Linked DNA regions of Homo sapiens: region 2 is linked to region 1. Evidence: promoter capture Hi-C in 16 types of primary human blood cells and fetal thymus (Javierre and others, 2016). All regions are on one chromosome and are shown on one strand. Each heading gives the region's core, a stretch centred on a gene start or on the middle of the fragment in contact. The rest is flanking DNA. Distances are from core to core; before and after follow the strand shown.

Region 1 (2,546 bases), core at 20-2,519:
GCACAGGTCCTCGCCTGTCCCTTCCTTGGGCACCCTAAGGGCTGGTCACAGAGGGAGTTAGCCCTTTAGCTGGCACTTAGGTTTGACTGGAGATAATCCTTTTCCAACGACTCCAGTGACGAGGGAACGCCCTTTGCAGTTCCAGAAACTGCCCGTCTAGATTATCACTGGGAAGTTCTGGGTAAATTCTGCTATAGCCCCCCATGGCCCTGTGTGTCAGCCTGAACCCATACAATGAGTTGGGTTAAAAGAAAGAGAAAACACAAGAGACGGATGGCTCTCCCAATGGAAGCGATCAGAGACCCGGCGCACGGAGCGGAGCTCCTGGTCCTTACCTGTACCAATCCAGCCCGCGGCCGTAGTTCCTGTCAAAGAAGTGGGGTTCCGTGCCCAAGGCCCGCACGTCCGGGTGTACTCGGATAAACTCCAGCACGGCCCGGGTGCCCCCCTTCTTCACGCCCACAATGAGGGCTTGGGGCAACCGCTTGGTACCCAGCTTGGGTGAGCCGGAGTGGTTGGAACCGGAGAGGCGAGGGGCGGGCACGGCGGCGGCGGGCGCGCTGGGAGCGCTGGGCTCGCTGGGCGTCGGCCCGGAGGGATCACAGGGGCGGGACTTCTGGAGAAGTTTCTGGCCGCCCGCGCTGGGGCCGCGGAGGCAGCGAGGCGCGCCGAGGAGGCGGCTCCGACCCAGGTCGTCGCAGCAGCACAGGAAGCTGTAACACAGGTAAGTGCAGGAGAGCGAGAGCGTGAAGGCGAAGAGCAGCCTGCGCGCCCTCCGCGGCTGAGGTGGCCCCGCGCGGCCCAGGACCCTATAGGCCATGGCTCCATGGGCCCGCGCCGGGGGTCATGGTTTCCGAGGGGGCACCGGCGGCTGAGCTGCTGTGGCCCTGCGGTCGCCTAGAGGGCTCGCGTGGCGCTGCCACGGCCACGCGGGTCGGGCGTTGGGGGCGCCGTCTTCTCCGGGGGCTGCTGACCAGGGTGCGCACAGTGCCAGGGGGTCCCGGGGGCAGCGGCTCCTCGGGGAACAGGCGGTTGCATTTCCAGCATCTCCCGGTCCTAGGCGATGGGGCTCCGGGCAGCCGGGCGGCTCGGGCGCTCCCAGGCTCTTACGTGCGCCGGGTTCGGAGCGCGCCCAGCGCCCGAAGCCCCATTCCTGATCCTCGGAGCGCCGCTCACGAAACGCTCGGCGGCGGCGCGGCTGTGCGGGCTGGCGGGTGGACCGGACGGTGGCGCTGGCGCCGGCCGCGATCTGGCTCTTCGGGAAATGCCGAGCGGAGCGCGCTGCCGGCTCTATTTAAGGAGTGGCCTGACGTCAGCCGCGCGGGTCCCCCGAGCCCGCGCCGCGCCCAGGGACCTGGCCCGCCCCCTGCGCCCCCACTCTCTTACCCCTCCCAGAAACACAGCACGCGGGCCCTCCCCATGCAGGCCACTCCCTACGGAGCCCCAGGCCAGCTTTGGGGCGGTGAAACGAAGGTGTCAAGGCATAGTACTCCTCCGGGAGGCTGGACACCCCCACCACGCTGGCCTCTCGACATCCAGGGACACGAATCCAGGTCGAGATCGCGCCGACATGCAGACCAGACAGACCCAGACGCAGACGCAGGCACCCTGCCCTGATGCGCGGTCCCACCACCCTGACCCGCACACGCACGCACAGGCACAGAAGCACACGCGCCCTAGCCCGGACACACCCCCACACCCACGCGGGGGTGGGGAGGAGAAGTCCCCTAACCTGGGCCCAGATACACCGACAAGGACACTCCCCCCGCTCTCGACATCTCGCCAAATGGACACACACAGCCCGGAATCGGACACCGAGCGCACGCACGCCCTGGACTGGGACACGCGCTGTAGACGGGATGGGTGGAGGAGCCGAGCGTGAGTGAGATTCCGTGACTATTCACCCAGCTTCTTAGCCCCCAGCGCGCTGACTCACACCCCGGCGGCTCGCTCTGTCTCGCACCTATGAGGCACGCGCGCACCCCAACCCATTGTCACCCCACCTCTCCCCGGGCCTGCCGGAGAGCGAGCCCCGGAGCGGCAGACTCCGCGTCAGGAGGGTTCCTCTCTTAGCAGCCGCCGCCTAGCGGTAGACTGCTCCCCGGGGAGCTGTCCAGGGTACCAGAGGGTCGCCGAGGGCTGAGTGAGGAGGGCTTCTTCACACAGAGACACTAGGAGGAGGAAACAGAGTACAAGGAGAACGTATCCAGGAGCAATTCCACTTCGAATGATTCCTAAGTGAATGCCTACAGGACAGTTCTCGGTGACCATGTCCAGAACAGGCATAAGTGACGATCCCCAGTACTTCCCTGAGGGACCACACTGGTACCTTGGATCAGAACCCTGCATCAGAACAGGCCTAAATGGCCATGGCTAAGAACACGGCTGAGTTGTCCTTCAACAGCAATGCCAATGCCAATTCACCATGTCCGAGTGTTCACAAGGTGAGTGCCCTCCACCACCACCCAGCCATAGAATGTCTAGATGACCACCATGACCCCCACCCTGATCAGGGTATAACTGACTTCCTTCCTCAGGCTGTAAAC
Region 2 (2,546 bases), core at 27-2,526, 1.2 Mb after region 1:
TGTGGTTACCCTTCTGCTCCACCTCAATTATCTGTGGAAAACCTAATTTAAGGGGTATATGGTGTTTTGTCTGCCCGCATTTCTTCCTGTAAGAAACACGCTTTCCCCTCTTCCCTAGTAAACTGTCTCAGTCCTTACGAGTTGGTGGAGCTGGACTGCCTCACTTCCATCCCCAAGGTCAGGTACATGCCCAGATCTGGTCAGAGGACTTCATGTGTCAAGGTACAACTACTGCCTCAGCCATGAGCACTTGACTCATACAGTGCCCATTAGCGTCCACCTGGGGACTTTTTCTGTGCTACTGGAACAAAAGTGCATGTTTCCTCACCATCTTGGGCTGTTAGCCCTATGTGAACATGGAGGTATCTTGCTGCCATGCGATGAAAAGCTTATACACAACGCAGAGGGTAAGTCAGAGAAACTAGTTAATGACATAATTTGAGATCCAAATCTGCCTGACTTTTCAGCTACAGAAGCCAATAAATTCCCTTTTTTTTCTTTTTTTCTTTTTTTTTGAGACAGAGTCTCACTGTCGCCCAGGCTGGAGTACAGTGGCGTGATCTTGGCTCACTGCAACTTCCACCTCCCGGGTTCAAGTGATTCTTCTGCCTCAGCCTCCAGAGTAGCTGGGACTACAGGCGTGCACTACCATGCCTGGCTAATTTTTTGTATTTATAGTACAGGCAGGGTTTCACCGTGTTGCCCGGGCTGGTTTAGAACTTCTGACCTTAGGTGATCCACCCGCCTCGGCCTCCCAAAATGCTGGGATTATAGGCATGAGCCACTGTTCCCAGCCCGAATTCCTTTTTTATTTAAGCTAACCTGCATTGAATTTCTGTCACTTGTAGCCAAAGTGGTTTGAATAATGCACCTTTCCAATTGGCACTTGTGCCCAAATTACCATAAACTGGCTGTCTCTGACCACTCTAGGGAAAGGATTCAGTGATTTCTAATTGACCACTACCAGTGAAGACATGGGAGGTTTGAAATAGCTGAGCCCAGATTCTGAGAACGACAGGACAAGGTCATGATTGTACTTTTGAACTTGATGTTGGAGGTGTTCACAAGCATGACGCCTCTCCTGGACTTTGTTTACTGATAGGAACCACAAGATAGACGAGACAGCAGAATTAGGCCAACAATGGGTGCAAGGTGCCAAAAAGGTAATAGAAACCCAAGTTCCACTTTGAAGCAGCATAAATCAGACATTTCTCAAACATTAAAAACGGAAGTGGCCTGATCAAGACCTTTAAACGGAGTAAAAAGCCACGAAGCCAAGGCCTTGAGCAGCTAGTCAGAGAATTATTGCAATATGTGCTCAGAGACACAGGGTTTCATGAAAAGCCCAGTCTCTGCCTGGCTGCAGCACCTCTGTGCTTTTTGTCCCAGCATTTGCTTAGCAGCAGAACCTCATTATCCTTCAGTGTTCTGTAGTTATAACAGATTCCAGCTTCAGGGGGAAAAAAATGGATTCCAGCTGCCAGGGGTTCTCTCTGGGAGATTTTCTATCTCTGAGACGAAATTGTCTTTTTCTCCCTTTTTTCATGGTGAGAGGGGCATGGAGTACACCTCTGATAATCTGCAGAGGCAAAGCCTTGCATGAGCATGCTGACAACCCTGCAGAGAGAAAGCCTTAGGCTGGAAGTTCAAGGGCAGCCAGGAGAATGAACATTTCGATGAATAAAGCAATTTGATAACTACCATGTTGTGGTCTAAGACCCACCACTTACAGGCTTACATGGTGATTACTGAAGCTGCAACTATTTTAATGGCTTCATCTACTTTAAAGTACTGGTGATTTTTCTACTACTTCATTTAATTGCTTGATGTTTCTTGGAAGAGTTCTTCGGTCTTTCTGCTAAAATGTTATCCCAAGCTAGGAGAGATGCCATGATTTCAGAGAATTTCTTTTCCTCTATAATATTATATATTTTCCTCTGGGTTATCAATGAACCTACTGACTACTTTGAGTATTATGCCTTTAGGATGTCTTCACCTCTCATTTCCTTAACATTTTTAAATGAATCTCTGATAGAAAAATGAATCTGAAGCCTTGCTTATGCTTTGATTCATTCAACAAATATTTATTGCACACTTACTGTTTTAGATGCCTGGGATACAGAGTAAATAAATCAACAATGATCCTTGCCTTCAACAAAGCTTACATTCTGGTGGAGGCAAAGAGATAATACATAAATAAATTTAATATCATCTTTTGTAATAATAACCATTACACCTCTGCTTATGAAAAAAATTGCATTCAATTTTTGCTCACAATCTTCTTTTTTTTTTTTTTTTTTTTGAGACAGAGTCTCACTCTGCCACCTAGGCTGGAGTGCAGTGGCATAATCATACTTCACTGCAACCTCTGCCTCCTGGGCTCAAGTGACCCTCCTGCATCAGCCCCACAAGTAGCTGGGACTACAGATGCATGCCACAATGCCCAGCTAATTTTTCTATTTTTTGTAGAGATGGGATTTTGCCATGTTTCCCAGGCTGGTCTTGAACTCCTAGGCTCAAATGATCTGCCTACCTCGGCCTCCCAA

Evidence for each region. Contacts are between HindIII fragments. The CHiCAGO score rates a contact against its expected background, and 5 or more counts as called.
Region 2: a fragment that was not itself captured here is called in contact with the fragment with the promoter of HS3ST2 in region 1 in 4 of 17 cell types (endothelial precursors, erythroblasts, M0 macrophages and 1 more); the score reaches 11.9 in endothelial precursors.

The regions. Positions count from the first base shown.
Region 1 is chr16:22,812,885-22,815,430 of GRCh38, reverse strand. HS3ST2 (heparan sulfate-glucosamine 3-sulfotransferase 2) reads right to left here and starts at 1,269. Exons shown (of 2, transcript NM_006043.2): 1 at 336-1,269. The coding sequence starts at 820. LOC107984851 (collagen alpha-1(XVI) chain) reads left to right here and starts at 572. Exons shown (of 4, transcript XR_001752349.2): 1 at 572-724; 2 at 2,167-2,444. The HindIII fragment of the contact is 5,471 bases long and covers 1-2,546 here.
Region 2 is chr16:21,564,697-21,567,242 of GRCh38, reverse strand. No RefSeq gene overlaps it. Among named protein-coding and RNA genes, the nearest start is that of METTL9, 34 kb to the left of the region's middle. The HindIII fragment of the contact is 1,772 bases long and covers 391-2,162 here.